Regions from separate parts of the Homo sapiens genome. Here region 1 is linked to region 2. The links are contacts of gene promoters, found by promoter capture Hi-C in blood cells and fetal thymus (Javierre and others, 2016). All regions are on one chromosome and are shown on one strand. Each heading gives the region's core, a stretch centred on a gene start or on the middle of the fragment in contact. The rest is flanking DNA. Distances are from core to core; before and after follow the strand shown. Region 1 holds the start of VTI1B (vesicle transport through interaction with t-SNAREs 1B). Region 2 overlaps EIF2S1 (eukaryotic translation initiation factor 2 subunit alpha).

Region 1 (2,700 bases), core at 65-2,564, 310 kb after region 2:
TGGGTGACAGAGTGAGACCCTGTCTCAAAAAAAAAAATGATAAATAATAAAATAAAACTGAAGTCCCATCCCCTATTCTTTTACTCTGATTTACTTTCCTGTATTCTTTAACACTGCCTCTTAATAGTTATATATTGTTTATCACCTACCCACTAGAATGGGGATGTTCGTATCTTTTTCACTGTAATTTGCAATATTCACCAGCACCTAGAACGGTGCCTCACAATTCACCAGCACCTAGCACACAGCAGCCTCACAATAAATATATATTAAATACATGAATTTCATTCTCACCAGTCATTCAATTCCTATGACCTTGAGTAATTCGTTGAGCAAACACCCAAGCTCTGACTCTTAAATAAAAGCAATAAAACAAAGTTTTGTCCTTGCCATCAAATTCTATATATCCGGAGGCCAAGAACTATAGCAGCTTTTCCTATGGATTTAGGGCCGGAAAACTCTAGCTCCTCCAGACAGAACTTGTAGCAACCTGAATCATGAAATTAAGGGGTAGTAAACAGTCTCAGCTGTAAAAACGTTCAAAACAAGACCACATCTAAATGCCACAATCAGGTTTTAAAGGCCAGCTCTCTACCCTCCAATAACTGGTATTTACCAACACCCCCAAATTATGACTCCTTTGGGTTTTTAACCCTTTTTCTGTGCTACGGATCCTCTGTCAGTCTGGTGAAAACTAGACCTGTCTTGAGACTAGTGCTTTTAAATGCATAAAACAAACAAAAACAGCTATGAAAGAAACCCACTCTACATTACAGGACCGCAGATGCAAAAGCCCCTCTGCTCTATTTGCCACAGTGAAAAAAGATGAGAAAATGTGGAAGGCCATAGAAGGATCCCAGGGAACTGAATCCCGAGGTCCAATTTACTCTCAGTGGCAGCAGGGAGACCTGGGGCTGGGACAAGCCAGCCCTAGGGGGCGTGTCTGAGGACGCGGAGGGAGGAGACGCGGGCCCGGGTCTGGGAGGAAGGTGGGAGAATCTTCCTTCCAAAGCGCGCAGGGCTGCGCTCCCCACGGCGTGGCCCACCCCCGCCTCACCGGTCCCCGCCGTCCCCAGCAGCCGCTCGGGCACCCCTTGTAGGTCTTCATGGAGGCCGCGGAAGATCTCGTGCAGCTTCTCGAAATGCTCCGAGGAGGCGGCGGAGGAGGCCATGGCGCAGGCCGCGCTGGAGCAGCGGCCACCGAGATTCGGGGCCCTGGGCCCTTTCCTAGCCCGGCGGTCAGCCGCCCAGCCCAGTGGCCATAACGGCGACCGCCGCACCACCGCCGCCCAGGACGAGGCTCTTCCGGAGCCGCGGCAGGGTCCTCTCGAGCCGGAACGCCCACCTTCTCCAGCCAGTGATTGCTGGAGCGCCGGCGCGAAAGCCTGACGAGAAGTCGGGAGACTGCGCGGCCTAGGCGACTCCTGAGGGAGCGGTGCCGCGCCGGGGCGATCGGCAGTCGCGGAACCCGAGAAGTGCCGGGTCCGGGTTGGGGAAAGGCCGCAGCGAAAGGGGCCTAGGGGACCTGCGGGACTGGCAGCGCGGCCGCCTTCCTCCCGGGCCCCGCCGGCCGGCGAGGGGCGGGCGCTGCAGTGCACGCCGGGGGATGTAGTTTGGCTCGGACGAGAGCGTCTCGTCCCGGGGTCGCGCGTTGCTCCGGGTGCCAGGTTCAGCCCGCGCGGCGACAGCGGGCTTCGGCCCGATTTGATGTATGTTTGCGTCTAGACGTCGTCCTCACTGTCATCGCGCTTTGCTTTGCCACCCTGACCCGAATTCCTCGTTTCGCGTCTTGACTGTTAGCTTTCGGCCCTGGAAAGATAGCCGGGCCAGGGGCTCTGCCTGCCGTCGGGAGGTGGAGCACTTTTCTTGGAAGGCCCAGCGGCTCCCCAAGCTTTCAGAAGTGGAACCCGGCCGGGCGAGTGGCTCGCGCCTGTAATCCCAGTACTTTGGGAGGCCGAGGTGGGAGGATTGCTTGAACCCAGTAGTTCGAGACCAGCCTGGGCACAATAGCGAGAGCTCTACCAGAAACCCAAAATAAGAACCGGGCATGGTGGCGCGCACTTTTGGCCCCAGCTACCCCCGGAGGCTGAGGTCCCACCACTGCACTCCAGCTTTGGGAGACCTTGCTCCCAAGTGGAGCGAGATCTTGTCTCCAAAAAAACAAAAAACCCAAAAACCAAAAATTCAAAAGTGGAACCCAGTTAGGATGACCTCGAAATACTCTAGCTGCTAGGCCCGAGTAATTCTCCTCGTGGAGACTAATTCTCCTCCTAGGCTGCCTCGTGCACTTGTTGACAACAGGTGTTTGTCAAGCGTAGGCATTGCGAGGGATCTGGGCATGTTGGTGAATAAAACATTTAATCTCTGCTCCAGGGGAATTTATAATCTGGTGTGGAAGGTGGGCCTGGCTTCATTAGGTCTCATCTGCCACTAAGTGTCACGTGTTAAAAATTACAAGGTCCCTTCTTGCACTCCATGGGTATAAATTCCTGTCTTCACGTCGGGCATGGTGGCTCACGCGTCATCCCAGCACTTTGGGAGGCCGAGGCGGGCGGATCACTTCAGGTCAAGAGTTCAAGACCAGCCTGGCCAACATGGTGAAACCCCCGTCTCTGCTAAAAACACAAAAATTAGCCAAGCGTGGTGGTGGGCGCCTGTAACCCCAGCTACTCGGGAGGCTGAGGCAGGAGAATCGCCTGA
Region 2 (2,700 bases), core at 198-2,697:
TGAAAAAAAAATTAACAAATTATTATATTACAAAATGGAAATACCTTCTTTTTCTTTCAATATTTTATGTTTGACTAGCACATAATGGTTTTCAAAATGTTTTTACGTATACATGTGATACCCTCAGTAAACCTGTGATGTACATGGCACAGATGAGAAACTACAGTTCAAAGGATGTTATCTTTCCCAAGCAGCCACTTCTAGTAAGTAGCAGAGCAAGGACTGGAACACAAGGCTAGAGTTGTTCCCCGAGTTTACTATGTTAATTGCCTGATTTGACACTTCTTGAGGACCAAATAAAATAAGAATGCTGTGAAAAAGATAAAGAGGTGAAGTCACCTAGTGTGACTTCGATATTGCGGAATGATTTTTTTAAGTTAAAAAAAAAATTTAAGTTATTAGCATTTCATTAGGCAATATGTTCAAAAATTGTCAACCAATATGCAGGTTTTTGTGGTATGGATTCTTTTTGTACTTAACTACTATCTATCTTTACTATGAATAACATACCATCAACAGTATTCCTTTACTTACCCTTTATGTTGCAAAGAGACTTGTGCCTCCTGAAGAAATAGTATTCATAGTCATATCCCTTCAGGATTCTCTTACATGATTGCCCATGTTTTTTAACCATCAAATTAAGCCTTGCTTCCCCTAAAAGCATCACCTTTACTGTTTGGAGAAGCTTGGTAAGTAAATGTGGTTTTCACTGGTCAAATGTCTTGCAACTGTTCCATACATTTCTGTAACATAGTTTATTTTTATGCCCAATTTGAAACTTTTTAGCTCTCAAATTTGAGAGCTTTACATACACATATTCAACAACAGTTTCCCCACCCCCACCCTCGAAAAGCCCTGTTTAAAAACGAAACAAACAGTCAGCTGTTTCTTGGTGGGTAAGGCCATTGAATGTCTACTTCTCTTTATTTGCTAAATCCCTATTTTGTAGGGATTTTGTATTCCCTACAAAGAAATACATCTCTGCTACTGTCATTAATATGCTGCTCTTTGTTGTCAAACAGATGAGTACTAATAGTTTGCACTTATTGGTGTTATGTACTCTGGCACTGAATATATATTAATGTTGCTTTTTAAGTAAAATGTTTCTAATTATAATATATTTATGAATAGTTTTGAGAGAATATAGTCTTACTGATAAGAGGACAGACTCTGGATCCAGACTTCATGGATTCAAATCCTGACTCATCACCTGTTAGCAGTATGTGAAAGAACAAGTAACTTAACCTGTGCTTCAGTTTTTTAATCTATAAAATGGGGAGAACTAGGGAGAAAGTTGTACCACAAGGAGATAGGCAATGGCCAGATCATATAGGATTCTGTAGGTAGTGGAAAGATACATAAGTCAGTGGGAAGCCACTGAGAAGATATAGGCAGGTGCCAATTAATAAGTTATTATATGAATTTTCACAAGGTTTTCTTAGGCCTTTAAGTTCTGTTACTACCTACGTTTTGAGCAGTGACAACAGTGAAGGTTAACAGAAAAACATGAAAATCATCAGCCATGATTAGTTTGAGAGCTTCCTTTTTTAAATATGCTTCTACCCAGGCTATGATTTCAGGCTTGTGGATCATAAAAGGAGTAGTGCTGAAAGTAGGTTGGGTGGATCAAAGGGAATAATTGTAAATATCTTTAATGCTTGGAGGTTAAGAGAAACTTGAACTTTGTAGTAATGGAGATTAAAGCTATTCTCAAGATTAGGTATACCTATTCAATAAAAGAAAGGAATATTTGGGAGTATTGGGGATAAGAGAAGCTAGACATTGTGAATTCAAGGAAAAAGAATTATGAGAGGAGGATGCATTTTAGTTTATTTTGTGATTAAAATTTTTTTAGTTTTTGTTGTTTTGACATGTGACACTGTAATTTTGGCTATAATAAATGACAGAATGTATCATTTGGTATATTGGTTAGGGTTTAGGTAGAAAATTTTTTCCTTTATATAGTGAGTGGTAGCGTATACAATGTTTGCTCACTTCGGCAAAGAGTAGCTTTAGTTTTCTGATTAGTTATAATAGTGATGCTTCCCATCATTTGATATGCCTTAAAGTAGTATTTTACTCTTGAGGTATTCCTTTAATCCTTAGGTCTTGGAGTACTTTATAGATGGTCATTATTTTTTATGATTCCTCTGAAACTAAAGGCAGAGAATCACCCAAGCATTACAAAAATGTTGAGCAAAATAAAAATTAAAGCTTGGTTCCTGAACATTATCTGTTTTCTGGTACCACTTAAGAAGTTTCAAAGGATGAGAAGACTAAGACTAATAACTATTTTTTTCTTCATCTTTTCTTTCAGTGGCAGGATGTGGAAATTGATTTTTTTTTTATTTTCACCTTAACTGAATACTTACTTAATTCTTTTGTTTAAATTGCAGAATGCCGGGTCTAAGTTGTAGATTTTATCAACACAAATTTCCTGAGGTGGAAGATGTAGTGATGGTGAATGTCAGATCCATTGCTGAAATGGGGGCTTATGTCAGCTTGCTGGAATACAACAACATTGAAGGCATGATTCTTCTTAGTGAATTATCCAGAAGGCGTATCCGTTCTATCAACAAACTCATCCGAATTGGCAGGAATGAGTGTGTGGTTGTCATTAGGGTGGACAAAGAAAAAGGTAAGTGAGAAAAATATCTGTAATATAAATTTCAGATTTAAAATGGTTTATTTAAAAATACA

What was found. Contacts are between HindIII fragments. The CHiCAGO score rates a contact against its expected background, and 5 or more counts as called.
Region 1: the fragment with the promoter of VTI1B here is called in contact with a fragment that was not itself captured in region 2 in 2 of 17 cell types (fetal thymus and non-activated CD4 T cells); the score reaches 6.0 in fetal thymus.

What each region holds. Positions count from the first base shown.
Region 1 is chr14:67,673,318-67,676,017 of GRCh38, forward strand. It overlaps VTI1B (vesicle transport through interaction with t-SNAREs 1B), which reads right to left and starts at 1,315. Exons shown (of 6, transcript NM_006370.3): 1 at 1,058-1,315. The coding sequence starts at 1,172. It also overlaps a transcript of GPHN not described here. RefSeq lists silencers at 990-1,099, 1,200-1,639. The HindIII fragment of the contact is 4,739 bases long and covers 1-1,889 here.
Region 2 is chr14:67,362,371-67,365,070 of GRCh38, forward strand. EIF2S1 (eukaryotic translation initiation factor 2 subunit alpha) reads left to right here. Exons shown (of 8, transcript NM_004094.5): 2 at 2,397-2,638. The coding sequence starts at 2,398. It also overlaps a transcript of GPHN not described here. Among named protein-coding and RNA genes, the nearest start is that of EIF2S1, 3.4 kb to the left of the region's middle. The HindIII fragment of the contact is 1,529 bases long and covers 684-2,212 here.